3 separate regions of the Homo sapiens genome follow, and regions 1 and 2 are each linked to region 3. Evidence: promoter capture Hi-C in 16 types of primary human blood cells and fetal thymus (Javierre and others, 2016). All regions are on one chromosome and are shown on one strand. The core of a region is centred on a gene start or on the middle of the fragment in contact, and the rest is flanking DNA. Distances in the headings are between cores, read along the strand shown. Region 1 overlaps SLC5A10 (solute carrier family 5 member 10). Region 2 overlaps SLC5A10 (solute carrier family 5 member 10). Region 3 holds the start of LLGL1 (LLGL scribble cell polarity complex component 1).

Evidence for each region. Contacts are between HindIII fragments. The CHiCAGO score rates a contact against its expected background, and 5 or more counts as called.
Region 1: a contact is called between a fragment that was not itself captured here and the fragment with the promoter of LLGL1 in region 3, in 1 of 17 cell types (fetal thymus). The highest score is 6.7, in fetal thymus.
Region 2: a fragment that was not itself captured here is called in contact with the fragment with the promoter of LLGL1 in region 3 in 1 of 17 cell types (fetal thymus); the score reaches 5.1 in fetal thymus.

Annotation. Positions count from the first base shown.
Region 1 is chr17:18,997,568-19,001,024 of GRCh38, forward strand. All of the region lies in intron 9 of SLC5A10 (solute carrier family 5 member 10), which reads left to right. All of the region lies in intron 2 of FAM83G (family with sequence similarity 83 member G), which reads right to left. Among named protein-coding and RNA genes, the nearest start is that of FAM83G, 5.5 kb to the right of the region's middle. The HindIII fragment of the contact is 7,329 bases long and covers 1-3,457 here.
Region 2 is chr17:18,958,188-18,961,242 of GRCh38, forward strand. It overlaps SLC5A10 (solute carrier family 5 member 10), which reads left to right. Exons shown (of 15, transcript NM_001042450.4): 2 at 495-566; 3 at 948-1,052; 4 at 1,417-1,476; 5 at 2,361-2,465. Among named protein-coding and RNA genes, the nearest start is that of SLC5A10, 7.6 kb to the left of the region's middle. RefSeq lists a silencer at 2,734-2,893 and an enhancer at 2,893-3,055. The HindIII fragment of the contact is 7,255 bases long and covers 1-3,055 here.
Region 3 is chr17:18,224,385-18,227,631 of GRCh38, forward strand. It overlaps LLGL1 (LLGL scribble cell polarity complex component 1), which reads left to right and starts at 1,251. Exons shown (of 23, transcript NM_004140.4): 1 at 1,251-1,379. The coding sequence starts at 1,299. RefSeq lists silencers at 913-1,392, 1,543-1,712. The HindIII fragment of the contact is 4,006 bases long and covers 441-3,247 here.

The DNA.
Region 1 (3,457 bases), core at 132-2,631, 770 kb after region 3:
AGACATTGGGGCCATCAAGCATCCTAATGCCCCAGAAAGCCTGGCTTGGAAAGGACTTGCCCAAGGTCACAAAGCACACCAGGGCAGGGCTGAGGCTTCTAGGCCACCTGGTGCCCACATGCTCTCTGCTGCGTTCCAGTGAGCCCCTGCTTGAACTTCTCCCAGGACAGGGAGCTCACCACTTCCACCCCAGACTACTCACAGAGAGAAGCTCTCAGGACAGGAGTGAGGAGTGAAGGTGGAGGAGGCGAGGGGAGAGATCTGGCATCTACCGATGCCAGCTCCATGCCAGACACAGAGTGTTTTACACACCACACTTTTTCCCATTTAAATCTCACTGACTTTATGAGGCAGGTGTTAGCTGTTAGCACTACCATGACACTGAGGAGGAAGGAACAGAAGGTCAGAGAGGCCAAGCAACTATCTCCAAGCAGCCACTAAAGATAACACCAGAGCTGGGGCTCATGCCTGGGTCCCAGTGATACGGAAGCCTGTCTTCCCACCACCCCACATGGCATTTAACCTGGCAAGGTACTCGAGCCCAGGGGTCATTCAGACCCTTAAAGGGGACTAGGACAGCCCAACCAGGCCAGGGCCTGCCAGGCTGGGGCCAACGTGGGCCAGGGCACAGGGTGGGACCCCATCTTCCTCCCCAGCTGCTCTCAAGGCAGAGGGTAGCTCAGTGCTTTTGGATGCTCCTGTCTATCACTGCGTCAAGACAAGGCCTGATCCCCATTTTACAAGTGAAGAAACTGAGGCCGAGGGTCCTGCAGCATGCAAGTGGCTAAGTGGGACCAGCACTCTCTGCTGGCCCAGGGGCCAGGACCCTCAGCTGCAGGGAGACCCTCTCCAGCCAGGGAGACCCAATCCAGGTCCAGCCACACCTAAGACCCTTGGTGTAACCTTATGAAGGCCCCAGCCGACTCTGAGCCTCAGTTTCCCCAGCTGTGATATGAACATGACGGCAGGCCCTGGCTCTTGGGGTTGTGGGAAGGAGGCCAGCCCAGTGGCTGAGCAGCTGCCTGTCCCACTGGAGTGCCCAGACGGGCAGGCACTCTCTCCTTAGAGCTCCTTCCTCGAAGGGCTGCTCCCGGCTCTCCTCGAAACTCTTAATTAAGGGAAGGGAGCCTTTGGAGCGCACAGGAGTTAACACCTGGGATTACTTTATCAGATGGTTCCCCACCCACTCTCTGACCTGTGGTGGGAGCCTGGGCCAGCTGTGCGCCCCACAAGGTGTCAACTGGGCCACCTGTGGCCTCTGGCAGTGTGGGGAGCTGTCCTGGCACTGCCCAGCTAAAGGATGCAATGAGTGGCCTTCCTCCTGGTCCCCAGGCCACAGAGCTCACCCTGTTCTTGTGAGTCCCCGTCCCAGCCCTCCTCCAGAGAGCCCAGTATTTAGCTGCCAAGGAGCCTCATGAAAACGCTTTTACTGCCAGGCACGGTGGCTCATGCCTGTAATCCCAGCACTTTGGGAGGCAGAGGCGGGTGGATCACAAGGTCAGGAGTTCGAGACCCACCTGACCAATACGGTGAAACCCCGTTTCTATTAAAAATACAAAAATTAGCTGGGCGTGGTGGCGCACACCTGTAATTCCAGCTACTCAGGAGGCTGAGGCAGGAGAATCGCTTGAACCCTGGAGGCGGAGGTTGCGGTGAGCAGAGATCGTGCCACTGCACTCCAGCCTGGGCGACAGAGCAAGACTTTGTCTCAAGAAGAAAAAAAAAAAAAGAAAATGCTTTTACTGTCCTGAGTCAACAGGATCCAGCAGTGAGGCTCTGGTGCTCCCATGCAGGGGTAGGGCTCAGAAGGAACAGTGCCACTGCTTCTCCAGGGAATGGGAGGGTGCTCAGGGCCTGCAGACTGGGGGTCTCGGCCCAGTCCCTCCAGATATCAGTTCTGTGACCTCAGGCCAGTTATTTGCCATCTCCGAGCCCCACCAAGCCTCAGTTTCCTCATCTGCACAATGGAGACAACACCTACTTTCCAGAGTTGTGGGGAGGATTACACAGCATGGTAAAGTGCCCGCTCAGCACCTGGCGCGGGGCTGGCATTTAGTAAGCACCTCATTAAGCTGCTTCTATTCTCTCAGAGCCAAGCTGTGGGCCAGGACTTCAGTGTGTGAAGGCGGGGGCCTGACAGAAAAAATGTGGGGTGAATCAGGCTTCGTGAAACCTGGGTTCGACTTTATTTCTCTGGGTCTGTTCCCAAGCCCTGGCCTGGCATGCAGAGATCAGTGTTCTGGCCCTGGCCACCGGCGCCTCACCTGCCCTCAGTTTCCTCAACTGTGAAATAAGGAAGGTGTGATCTGTCCCTGCCCTGGGGCCTCACCCTGGGGCTGGTGAGGGATCCTGCTAAGGCCCCCCTGCTGTGTCCTGTTGAGGGGGGCTCAGCATCTGCTGGAGGAGCAACCAGCTAGAACATCTACATCCAGCTCTGGCTGAGGAAGCCCCAACCCAGCCCAGCCTCACGCCTTCTCAGGCTGCAGCCAAGTGAGGCCGGGGCTCGCCCCTCCCAGGCGTGATCTTACAAGCCCGTCCTCTGGTATGTAGTTGGAACCCCACAGCAGGTTTTTTCCCAGATAAATCATGGCTCCTGGGGCTAGGGGAGGGGCAGGCAGTTGACCTTCCATCTTGGAGTAGGAGCCCACTAGGGCTGGAGGGAGGCTGGAGGGCACAAGCTGCTGAGAGTGAGACCTGGGACCCACCCGCCTCTTGTCCCAGGGGAGTCTAGGATCACAGGGCAGCAAGGTGTCAGGGCTGAAGGGGCCCCTAACAGTCTTCAATACCTGTTCCCATTTTACAGATGGGATGACCGGGGCTTGGAGAGGAGCTGGGGCTTGTTCCAGGTCCCACAGTCAGGCAGAGGCAGAGCACGGACTCTTGGCTCCTGGTCCTGCTGTCCACTAGTTCCATTCTAGTCATTTGGGAACAGGGGGGACTGACAGCAGTCCTGACAGGAACACAGCCGCTCCCCTAAGTGCTGCGTCACTTCCCTGCCCCAGGGTCTGCCTGTTGTGCTGACGACAGGTAAGGTGAGTGAGGAGGCGGAAGGCTGGGCTGTCCTGACTCAGCCCCAGCAGCCCCAGCCTAAAGCCCCCGGTGGGAAGGGGCCAGTGTGCGGCAAGGCGGCCCAGGCAGAGGGATCCCCATCCTAGGCAGGGGGCAGGCAGAGTTCTCCCTACACAATACCAGAGTGAGAAGGGGAGGTGGAAGCATGGGCACGAGAGGTGATTCATGGGGAGAGATAAGGCAGGGAGCGCTCCCAGGAAGCAGGCAGACAAAGCGCCCCGTCAGCATCCGTCAGTGTCCGGGCCCTGCCCCTGTGAGCCTGGGAAGCAGCTGGGGCAGGACAGCTGGAGGACTGCAGTGGCCTGGATGAGCTGCCCCTCCCAGCCCCTGCCTGTCACTCTGTCCTGCCAGGGCCAGGGCACAAGGGATAGCCTAGAGTTTGAGGGAA
Region 2 (3,055 bases), core at 444-2,943, 730 kb after region 3:
AGTGTCCTAAGTAGCGGGGGCCACAGGTGTGTGCCACCAAACCCTGCATTTTTTGTAGACCTGGGGTCTCACTATGTTGCCAGTCTGGTCTCAAACTGCTAGGCTCAAGTGATCCGCTTACCTCCGCCTCCCAATGTGCTGGGATTACAGGCATGAGCTACTGCACCCAATAGAACTTCATTCCTTTTGAAGACTGAATAATATTTCTTTATATAGGATATACCACATTTTGTTTATTTACTCATCAGTCGACAGAAATGTGGGTTGTTTTCACTTTTGGCTATTATGAATAATGCTGCTATGAACATTCGTGTACAAGTTTCTGAGTGGATGTGTGTTTTCAATTCTTTTGGACATATACCTAGGAGTGGAACTTCTGGGTCATATGGTGATTCTATGCGTAACCTTTTGAGGAGCTGCCAAGCCGTTTCCCATTCGACTTCCCAGCAGCAGTGTGCGGGCTTCCAACTCCTGTCCCTTTTCTCCTCTTGCAGTCCTCTTGTCGGGCCAGTAGGAACACGGTGAATGGCTACTTCCTGGCAGGCCGGGACATGACGTGGTGGCCGGTGAGTGCACCCTGACTTCTCACACACCCCCACTTTGTCCGTGGGGCTGTGTCTGATCTCTAGGTCACCTGGCATCTGTATCTTTGAGCCAGTCCAATTCAGTGGAGCAGGCCGGAGGCTGGCAGGAGGTCCCCAAGTGAGGGGCATAGGGCTGAGCTGCTAGAAATTGTGTAAGGGGCAGGGGCTATGGAGTCTGAAACTTACATCCGCTCCTTAGCTGTGCAGCTAGTCATGGGTAGAACACACACCCTGGGCTCCTCATCCGTGAGGTGGGGCTAGGACCCCGCTTAGGTTTGTGAGGATGAGGGAGAAGCTATTAGGCCCAGGATGGGGCCGGCGCAGGGAGCCTGCTGCTGATGCGTTTCCCTTTCTCTCCTCCAGATTGGAGCCTCCCTCTTCGCCAGCAGCGAGGGCTCTGGCCTCTTCATTGGACTGGCGGGCTCAGGCGCGGCAGGAGGTCTGGCCGTGGCAGGCTTCGAGTGGAATGTGAGTCCTGGAGGACTGGCGGCCTGTGGGAGGGCCAGGGCACAGGATGTGGTCGCAGCACTGGAGGGGGACAGCTCCCAGTGGCTGGTGTCAGCCGATGTCCAGGTGGGCTCTGTGCAGTGCTGTTCCTGGGCCAAATCGTGTCTTCAGAATACCAAGGTGCTGGATGGCACGACTGGCAGGGAGCTGTGGGCCTTGCCCAGACCTAGAGAGGGGAAGGAGCCACCCAGGATCTCATGGCAAGTCAGGAGGGGCTGGGGGAAGCCAGGCCTCCGGATGGCTCATCCCAGCCATGTCTGCTTTGTCTCTGGAGCAGAGCTGTGGGAGCTGCACCTGCAGTCCTCACCTGTCTCTGTCCCCATAGGCCACGTACGTGCTGCTGGCACTGGCATGGGTGTTCGTGCCCATCTACATCTCCTCAGAGGTGAGTCTACTCATGGGGCCTCCAGCTGGGGGGCTGGGCCTTGGTCCAAGTTGGTGGTAGTAATGGGCAGGACCACCGTGGCCTCACATCAGGAGTTGGTAAACTCTTAGGGCTGGGTTTGCTATTAGCCCGACTAATATTTCTATCAACCTGCTAAGGTGGATCCCGACTAATATTTCTATCAACCTGCTAAGGTGGATCCCCTCAGACCTCAGCCTGGGTGCCGTGTTGGCTGGTTTCCACTGCCCTGAGTGCTGCATCTCAGGAATAATGTCCCATCCAGCTGGGCACATAGGCTGTACAACTGGGCCATGCACCTGGTTTGCACACCTGGCCCACACACCTGGGTAGCATACCTGGGCTGTACCCCTGGGCTGCGTACCTGAATGGCACACCTGGGCCGCACAATTGGCTGCACCATCGTCGACTCTGCCCACTCCTTCAGCCCCAGCCATGCAGCCACTAAGTCCAGTCAACTCCACTTCCTGGATGTCTCTCAGCCTGTCCCCAGCTCTGCCCCTCACAGCCACCTCCCTCATCCAGCCTCATCATAGTGCACCTGGATTTGTCATAACAGCCTCTAAACTTGTCCCTCTGTCCCAGCCACGGCCCCTCCAATCCATTCCTCGTCTCAGCCCTAAAGAGCCAGTCTAGGGATCTCAGCCTGCCACTCCCCTGCCTGACACCCTCGGGGCGCAGCCGGAGCAGCCCGGGATTCCAGGCCGGGTGCTGGGGCTGTAAGGGGTCAGTGCCTGGGCCTTGCCCTTGAGAGGCTCGCAGCTGCTTTGTGGCGGGGGGAGAGGCAGAGTGATTGAGACAGGCCCTGCCTGGAGCCCTGGGCATCATCTGGAGGATGCTTAGCCCCTACCCATGTGCCTTCCCAGATCGTCACCTTACCTGAGTACATTCAGAAGCGCTACGGGGGCCAGCGGATCCGCATGTACCTGTCTGTCCTGTCCCTGCTACTGTCTGTCTTCACCAAGATATCGGTGAGCTGCCCCCGGCTCCCTGCTGGCATAGCCTGGAAACATCGCCAATCTGTGGGCCCCTCAAGAGGACCTGACATCTTCTCATTCATCTCTGCCTTGTTTAACAGCTGGGCAAATTGAGGCCCAGAGAGGGGCAATGACTTGCCCAGGGTCACGCAGCGAGTCTGGACAGGTAGTCCAGGGCCCCCGGGGTGTAGGCTCAGCAGCCAGCCCTAGTCAGGGACAGAACACAACCTGGTGACCTCTGCTTTGCCTCAGGTTCTAGACACAGGGTGTTAGGACGGTTCTCGGTCTGAGGTCAGTTCTGGGGCCGGCACCGGGGTGAGCCACGATCTCCCACTAGGGGGCGCCAAAAGCCCACGTGGTCTTAGCCACATCTGGTCTGCACTGAGCTGACCTGCCTCTCACCCCAAGGCTGGTGGGCTCCATCACTGACACCCATCCTTGGGGGCCTGGCCCTGCCCCCACGGGCATATTAAGAGCAGGAGCACACCTCGAATGTCAGGGTCAGGAGAAGCATAGAGCTCATCTTGTCCAAGCCCCTGACTTTACAGAGAGGGAAACTAAGGCCCAGAGAAGGGAAAGAGCTT
Region 3 (3,247 bases), core at 1-2,500:
AGTCAGCTGAAACCAGGAAAGGGCTTTGAACAGCGCCTGCCCCGCAGTAGACACTTAGGGGCTTTACTGTCGTCATTCTCCCTCCTCTCACCTCCTCACTCACTCCTGGGCCCTCTTCCGGATCCAGCCCCAAATACGGGGAAGGGCTGAACACCGCCGGCCTGGCGTGGGTGGAGGGGGACAGCCAGGCCCCAAGGCTTGGCAGCCGCCTCGGGCTCAGAGGTCAGCTCCTGCTCCCTGGACACAGCTGGTGGGGTTGGGGCCTGTCCTACCTGCCCCACCTAAGCTTCTAGGACCTCCCGCAGCCCCAGCCCTGAGCCAGGCGGCCTATCCTCAGCCTGGAAGGAAAGGTTCAGCCTCGAGGCCATTGTCCAGATGAGAAAAGGCCTGGGAGGTGGGTGGGGACAGGCAGACGGCCCCTGAGAGTAGGGGCAGGGCTAAGCTTTGTTCAGACGCTGTTCTCTGCGGGGGGAGGTCCTTCCCCCATCTCCGTAAAGCTCCAATCCAACCCCAGAACAGTCCCAAATGCCACCTCCTGGGGATCCCGTCTCTTTCTTTGGCTAAGAAAGAATCCCCTGTGCTGTGACACAGAGCCTTTTGCGTTGGGTCCTGAAAGATGTGTAGGAGTTCCCCAGGGGCTGGGGGTGAGGAAAGAATTCCTGACTACAAAGCCAAGGCAAAAGCACGGCGGTGGGAGGTGCTCTGACAGAGCGGGGAACAGACGAAATGGAGTTCTGTGAAATTGGTAAAATATAAACTTGGCAATCACTTGACCAATGGTGTAGATGGGGAAACTGAGGCGCAGAGGGGCCAGGGAGTTGTTCCAGTCAGAGCTGTCTTGGCTTTCGGAACAGGGCTGCCCCATTACATGAGTGGGCACGTCGCTCGCTCTCTGGGAGGAGGAAAAAGTCTCCTCCAAGCCCGGGAACGTGCGCCAATCCCCCTCCAAAGCGCTTCCCCAGCCGCCCGCGCTGGAGCCCCGGCTCATGGACTACAAGTCCCGGCAGGCCCCGCGCCGCGGCGCATGCTAGGCGGGCGTCCCTTCGCGAGCCCGGCCGAGCCCGGGGGCCCAGTTCACCATTGTCTGGCCAACAGGGGCGGGGCGGGCGGCACGGCGGGCTCGCTCACTGGTCGGGCGGCGCGTCCGTCGCGCCCGGCGCCCACCCCCGTGCAGGCCCGGCCCCGCGCGCCCGCGCCCGGGCCGCCTGGCGCCCCGCCCGCGCCTTAGGACCCGCGGGGCCGCGCGGCGCATCCTGCGGGCGGCGGCGGCGGGCGAGGCGCCTGCAGCCGGGCGCAAGATGATGAAGTTTCGGTTCCGGCGGCAGGGCGCCGACCCGCAGCGCGAGAAGCTCAAGCAGGAGCTTTTCGCCTTCAACAAGGTGCGGCGGCGGCCCGGGCCCGGGCTCGGGCGGGAGGGGGCGGGACGGGGGCCTGGGCTGGGGGCCCGGGGTCGGAGCCACGTCGGGCCCGGGGGGCGGGGGCTGGCATGCAGCGCGGCGCGGGGCGGGGCCGGGCCGGGCCGCGCACCCCCTCGGCGGGCCCCGCTCTGGCTCGGACTCTGGGTGGGTCTGGGTCTCCGGCCGACTTTCCGTGTCTGCTCCCCGAGTCTCTGCGGGCCGCTCTGGCCCTGGCTCTGCCAGTCTGTGTGTGTGGGGGTCTGTCTCTGAGACTCTTTGCCTGTCTCTGGGTCTCTGTCCCTCTTTCTCCGCCGCTGACCGGCTGTCTCGCCCCAGTTGTGCCTGTGTGTGTGGTGGGGGTGTCTCTGCCTCTGCCCCTTCCTATCTCTGCCTGTCTCCCTTTATCTCTCTGCCTCTCATTTCTCTTGCTGCCTGTGCGTCTCTGAGTCTTCTTTGCCTGTCTCTCCCTGCGTGTCTCTCTCTCTGTCTCTGTGGAGTCTCTCGACCTCTGTCGCTCACTTCTGTCTCTTTATCCTTTTTCTTAGGGGCTCCATTGCGTCCCTGCTCGGCCCTTGGGACAGCCCTGGGGCCCGGTTTGTTTTGTGCTTTGGCACCCAGGAGGGTGAGAGAGTTAGTGGGGGCGAGGCAGCTGTGGGGGGTGCGGCTGGGAAATCCCTTCAAGGAGCCTCTCCTTCCTTCCCCCACTGCTCCAGGCTCTGCCTTGCCCTGCTCTGCCCTGCCCGGGGCTCCGAGTCCAGGGGACATGCCTGGCTGTGTACTACACTGCACTTCGCATCGTGGGGCCTCAGTTTCCCTAGCTGTGAAATGAGGCTACTTTTCTCCATACTGTGGGCCCTGGCTCCCTCTGCCACATGGGCCAGCTGTCCTGCCTTTCTGCACCAAGGTGGAGTGAGGTGGAGGCTTTTCCTTCCTTTCCCGGAGTGGGACACTAGGGGCCAGGGAAAGGGGCCGCCTCAGCCCCCGCCTCCCTCTGCACTGATGTTAGAGCAGGGCCTCAGCCCACTCCTGGCTCACTGCTCTGGGGACGTTGGTTTTGTCCTCATTCTTACCCCAGAGCCCACTGATGGCAGAGCCTCTCAGTGCTCTTCGAAATTAGAGTTATCTTCAAAATACAGGTGAGAAAATTGAGGTTCTGAGAGGGGTGACGGCTTGCCCGGAGTCAGAGTGAGCTGCACCAATATCTTTCTTGAGTTCTTGTGTCAGTGGGGTTGGATTTTAGCCTTGAGGGGCAGGGATTTTTCCAAGGGGCTGCTGTGGTCCTGGGCCAGTGTTGTGCCAGGCGCCCTGGGCTGCCTTGAGGAGACACTTGTCTTGGAGGAGGCTCTGGGACGGCTGGACCTGGAGTAGTGGAGGCACTGGGATGTCTCAGGGTTTCCCTGCCTAGGTCTGCAGTGATTGCCGATGAGAGCTGCCAGGACCCTCACACGGTGGCTGAGAACCTGCTAGGAACCTGAGAGGGGCCCAGAAGGGAAGCTGGTGCTCCGTGGTCCCCAGATGGCACCTATTTTCTGTGCCGGGGAGGCTGTGAGGGTGAGGTGAGAGGAGAATGGCCCTTCAGGGAAAGGCAGCAACAGGCACAGGGCTAAATGTCACTTTTTTTTTTTTGAAATGGGGTCTCACTCTCACCCAGGCTGGAGTGCAGTGGCACAATCACAGTCCACTGCAGCCTCACAACTCCCTGGCTCAGGTGATCCTCCCATCTCAGCCTCCTGAAGCTGGGACTACAGGCTCGTGTCACCATGCCCGGCTAGTTTTTGTATTTTTTGTAGAGATGGGGTTTCACCATGTTGCCCAGGCTGGTCTCGAACTCCTGGGTTCAAGCTATCTAT